Linked DNA regions of Homo sapiens: region 1 is linked to region 2. The links are contacts of gene promoters, found by promoter capture Hi-C in blood cells and fetal thymus (Javierre and others, 2016). All regions are on one chromosome and are shown on one strand. The core of a region is centred on a gene start or on the middle of the fragment in contact, and the rest is flanking DNA. Distances in the headings are between cores, read along the strand shown. Region 1 overlaps DOC2B (double C2 domain beta). Region 2 holds the start of TIMM22 (translocase of inner mitochondrial membrane 22).

Region 1 (2,700 bases), core at 167-2,666, 850 kb after region 2:
TGACCTCAAGTGATCCACCCACCCTGGCCTCCCAAAGGGCTGGGATTACAGGCGTGAGCCACTGTGCCCGGCCTATGGTGTGACATTTTTAAACCAGTTTCAATGCCCACCTGCCAGATGGACAGGAATTCCAGGGTCACCTGCTGGGTTGCCCAGAAAGCAGAGTCTTACCTGCTGTGACAGATGGTCTGGTCAACTTCCACAGGCAGGCGGGGGGCCATCTGGGCAGGGCCTGTCCACTGTACCACAAGCTCCTCCCTGCCACAGGTGGCTGCTGTGGGTGCTGCTGGACCCCTGCAGCTGGGTCCCACCTGCCAGCCGTGGGCCAGGTCACGTGGCCTTTCAAAGACAGGCCGAGCTGTGGGCCACTCCCTGTATCTGAGCCACGCCTCACCCGAGACCTCCACATCTGTTTCAGACACCCTGGGTGAGACACGACGGCTGCTGCTCGGGGCTCCTCAGGGGTCCCCGTCTCTGAAAGGCCCCTTCATGGACCAGGGGCCTCTTCCTCACTAAAGCAGAGGAAATAAGGGCACAGATTAGATGGTAAGAGGGGCACCCCTCAGCTGCATCCTAGACCTGGAAGAGAGTGTGACCTGTGCCCCAGAAGAAAGGGAGGGACGTATCTAGCGGTTGATGCTGAGGGCCAAAGCTAGATGGGTCAAGGCCTTTTGTCTGCACTATTATTTTTATTTGTTTTCTTTATTTCTTCCTTTCTTTTTTGAGACAGTGACTCACTCTGTCACCGGGCTGGAATGCAGTGATGCGATCACAGCTCACAGCAGCCTCAAACTCCTGGGCTCAAGCAGTCCTTCCCCCTCAGCCTCCTGAGTAGCTGGGACTACAGGTGTGCACCACCACGCCTGGCTAGTTGTTTTTTGTATTTTTTGTAGAGACTGGGTTTTGCCGTATTGGCCAGGCTGGTCTCAAACTGCTGGACTCAAACGATCCTCCTAGCTCGGCCTCCCAAAGTGCTGGGATTACAGGTGCAAGCCACCATGCCCAGCTAGCACCATTATTTTTATAAAGCTCATCTCTGGTGATACTTGCCCCAGTTTCCCCAGGCCGGAAGTTGACCCCAGGCCCAGCTCTTGAGGGTTTGATGGAAAACCCCAGGAGTAGCAGTGCCTGTGACAATCGCTGACATGTCGAGTTACACGTAATATCCCTGAGCTGCGCGATGGCTGCGTGTGACGCGCTCAGCAGCCTGTGCGGTCGCTCCTGTTGTTATCTCCATTTCATGCCCGTGAAAATGGCAGTAACTGGCAGCAACGTGCTGTGCCACCCTGGGCAACTCCCTTCTCTGGCTGTCTTATGTATAACCAGAAGGGGTTTCTTCTCAAAGCCACAGGCAAGCAGAAGGCACTGTGCAGAGGGCTCAGAGGTACACGGCACAGGGCGGCTCCGTGAGCCCCGGTGGCCAGGACCACTGTCCTGACAGCAAGGGAGGGAGAGACGCCACAGGGCGGGCCTCAGGGGCTTTGCAGGGTGGGCTTGTGCCAGAGTAGGGTATGCTCAGGGAGGGTGCTGAGGGATTTCCCCAGAGTGGTCAGGTGAGGAGGGAAGGGCACTTCTGGTAGAGAAAACAGCAGAACAGAGGGCAACGCTGGCGGAACTGTCCATGGCTGAAGGTGCCGAGGCTGGAGCCTGTCGTGGAAGTCTGGTGGCTGAGTGAGGGGTCACCAGATGGGCACAAGTTGTCCAGGCTGAGGGTGCAGAGATCCCAAAACAACTTTCCTTCCAGGGGCTTGTGAAGGCAGGGCACGCAGGACCCTTCTGTCCCTGCTCCTCACCCGTCACCAAACAGGCCAAGGACAGTTCACAGCAGACACAATATACCAATACCTAGAGAAATGGCCAAGGAGCATAGTAAGTAACTAAGGAAATCCGCTGTCTCCGGGTGGCGGGCTTAGGGGAATCCCCCCAAACTTTTTTAAAATCAGGTTTATTGAGGTACAGGTTGAGCGTCCCAAAGCTGTAAATCCAAAACCCCAAACATTCCAAGCACCGACATGACGCTCAAAGGGAATGCTTATTGGCGCGTTTGGGATTTCAGATTTTTGAATTTTTGAGTTAGGGATGCTGAACTGGTAAATATACTGCAAAGATTACAAAATATGAAAAAATCCAAAATTCAAAACATCTGGTCCAAGCATTTCAGATAATGGATCCTCAACCTGTATCATTCATATCCAGTGAGTTTTTCTTTTCTTTTCTTTTTTTAGAGACAGGGTTTTGCTCTGTTGTCCAGGCCAAAGTGCAGTGGCGCAATCATAGCTCATTGCAGCCTTGAACTCCTGGGCTCAAGCATCTTCCCACCTCAGCACTGTGAATAGCTGGGACTACAGGCATGCACCACCATGCCCAGCTAATTTTTAATTTTTTGGTAGAGATGGGGTCTCGCTGTATCACCCAGGCTGGGACAGTCTTGTTTCCACCACCAGAATCAACACAGAGAATATGACCCCAGAAAGTTCCCTGGCCCCAGGCAACCACTCACCTGTTTTCTGTCTCAATGGTGTTGCCGTTTCCAGACTTTCCCATGAAACAGTCAGATAGTGTGTTGCCCTGTGAGTCCGGCTTCTTTCACACGGAGGAATGCGTTTGAGATTCATCTGTCAGTTGCATGTACCAGGAGTTTGGTCCTTTTTGTTGCTAAGTGGTCTTCCATTGTGTGGGTAAACCACAAGTTTGTTGTTG
Region 2 (2,775 bases), core at 64-2,563:
ACATTCACAGTAATGCTTTACTGAGCACATGCCAGTATGCCACAGCCTCATTCATTCTTCACAATAATCCAGTGAGACAGATGCTATTAGCCTCTCCTTTCTATAAACTGAGGCTCAGAGAGGTTAAGCAACTTCTCCCAAGGCCACACAGCTACCTAATGGCAAATCCCACACTGCTGCCACATCTGTCCTTCCTGAGCCGGCTGGACATGTCCAGATGGATGCCCTCTCATGACCTCATGGTCAATATGAGTTTAATAAAATCATGGGCACCTCCCCTTCAACTTAAGGGAAAAACAGAAGGACAAGTGCAGACTTCGTCTCTCCTTGCTCGGGGCTGTCTAGTCACAATGGTCTTTCAGTTTTTCAAACCTCAAACAACTGCTGCCCTAGAGTCGTCTGCATGTGCATTTCCATATGTCTGCATCCTTCCTCTGCAGTGTTCCTGCTCAACATTCTTCTCCACATAGTATAATACAGGCCCCATGAAGACCAGGCTCTTGTCTCTTTCACCTGGCACGTGATATTGCTTAGGAACAATTTGTTGAAAGAATTATTTAAGAGAATGAATTTAAGGGAATGAACGGATGAATGAAGTCACCCACGTAATAACTTTTTGTTGTTGTTTTTGAGACGGAGTCTCGCTCTGTCGCCCAGGCTGGAGAGCAGTGGCACATCTCGGCTCACTGCAAGCTCCGCCTCCTGGGTTCAAGCGATTCTCCTGCCTCAACCTCCCGAATAGCTGGGACTACAGGCGCCCACCACCACGTCCAGCTAATTTTTTGTATTTTTAGTAGAGACGGGGTTTCACCGTGTTAGCCAGGATGTCATGTAATAACTTTCAGGCCCCAACCACAGCACCGATTCTCTAACCCAATTTTCATCAGGAAAGCCGGCCTGAGGGGGCAGGAGAGGTGACGCCCGATTCACGAACGAGGCGAGGGTGTGGTCAAGGTCAAGGCCCGCAGTCCCTCGCCTCCCAGGCGCGTGGTCTTCTCGGCAGAGATCCCCACTGCCGTCCAGGCCCTCAGCCTCCCAAGGGTCCCATCGCCCGGCCTCACCTCCCACGCAGGCCAGCGCAGCCTTGAAAGCGCAGCTTTCCATCGCCTTCTCGATCATCTTCTGCTCCTCACTCTTGGCTGGACTTGGGATCCCGCCCAGGCTCCCAGGCTCCAGGAGCCGGGGCTGACGCTTGTCACCCACCAGGTACTGCAGGAGCAGGCTGTACTGCAGCGGAGCTTCGGCGGAACCCGCTGTCTCAGGGGCCGAGCCTCCGGCATTGGGGGCGGCCGCCGCCATGACAGTCGCTGCCCAAGCAACCCTCGCGTCCTTCTCCCCGCAGCAGATTCGACAAGCGTCACGTTGCGGGCCCTGAGACTAGCCACTGTGATGCAACGGCAGATTCGCCGCAGGAGGAAGCCGCGGCCGCAACGCTCCTGGTGCGCACACCAGCGAGACCGCTATCATGTTTCCAAAAAGAAAGCCTCTTGTGAAAATGGAATTGGGCTTGGACAGCTTTCCCCATGTCACAGACAAACGAGATTCAGATTCACCAGAAAGCGCCCTCACGGTCGGGGCTGCAGCGCGGTGAGTACCGGGATTTGTAGTTCTAATCCGACACCCAACTACATTTCCCAGGAAGCGTTGCGCGTGCTCTCGCGCCTCGGCCCCGCGCGGGGCTCTTACGAGCTCCTGAGGGGAGCGAGGAGTGGCCGCGCGCTCCGGGGCTGCCGTGCTCCGGATCGCCGGGAGGGGACGCGCGAGCATTGTCGCTGCCCTTTCCACCTCGTGCTGTCATCGGGCGGTGAGGCGTTAAATCCCGTGGTCCCGGAAGGTGCGGTGAGAGGTGGATGCTTTGTAGATAAGCGTGAACTTGTGCTGTAAATGCACGGACCGGGCGCGGGGGCTCACGCCTGTCATCCAGCACTGTGGGAGGCCGAGGCCGGTGGATCACGAGGTCAGGAGTTCGAGACCAGTCTGACAAACATGGTGAAACCCCATCTCTACTAAAAATTAAAAAAATAAAAAATAAAAAAATTAGCTGGGCATGGTGGTGCACGCCTGTATTCTCAGCTACTTAGGAGGCTGAAGCAGGAAACCCCGTCTCTACTAAAAATATAAAAATTAGCCAGGTGGCGGCAGGCGCCTGTAATCTCAGTTACTCGGGAGGCTGAGACAGGAGAATCTCTTAAACCCGGGAGGTGGAGGTTGCAGTGAGCCAAGATCGCACCATCGCACTCCAGCCTGGGCGACAAGAGCAAGACTCCGTCTCAAAAAAAAAAAAAAAAAAAAAAAAATCCTAACTGACAGCATTTGCTGACTTGTGTGGTGTTAATATCCCCATCATGGCTGATTTCAAACTACCAAGCGAGGTCATCAGTCAGAATTGGGAAGACGTACAGCAGCATGTGGTTACATGGTGTTTCTATCACACAGATACAATCTATGGAAATAACCTCAACAGCATAGATAGGAGTACAGTGTAGTAAAATTTTTAGGAGGGGATGAGTTTTGAGCACATATTACCTATTTTTAGTGTAATTTATTATAAATGTATAGAATGTAATTTTTAATAATAACTGTGCTTAACAACCAGCTCAAAAACTCCTGATAATTTGTTGCCTTACTTTTTAAAATTACTCTTTTGAGACAGAGTCTTGCTCTGTCACCCAGGTTGGAGTGCAGTGGTGCAATCTCCGCTCACTGCAACCTGCACCTCCCGGGTTTGAGCGATTCTCCTGCCTCAGCCTCCCGACTAGCTGGGATTACAGGCAC

Evidence for each region. The method cuts DNA at HindIII sites, captures the fragments that hold promoters and counts their contacts. A CHiCAGO score of 5 or more calls a contact.
Region 1: a contact is called between a fragment that was not itself captured here and the fragment with the promoter of TIMM22 in region 2, in 15 of 17 cell types (naive CD8 T cells, M2 macrophages, fetal thymus and 12 more). The highest score is 15.1, in naive CD8 T cells.

Annotation. Positions count from the first base shown.
Region 1 is chr17:150,794-153,493 of GRCh38, reverse strand. All of the region lies in intron 6 of DOC2B (double C2 domain beta), which reads left to right. Among named protein-coding and RNA genes, the nearest start is that of SCGB1C2, 15 kb to the right of the region's middle. The HindIII fragment of the contact is 3,739 bases long and covers 1-2,700 here.
Region 2 is chr17:995,667-998,441 of GRCh38, reverse strand. It overlaps TIMM22 (translocase of inner mitochondrial membrane 22), which reads right to left and starts at 1,313. Exons shown (of 4, transcript NM_013337.4): 1 at 1,062-1,313. The coding sequence starts at 1,299. RefSeq lists an enhancer at 600-1,291. The HindIII fragment of the contact is 11,380 bases long and covers 1-2,775 here.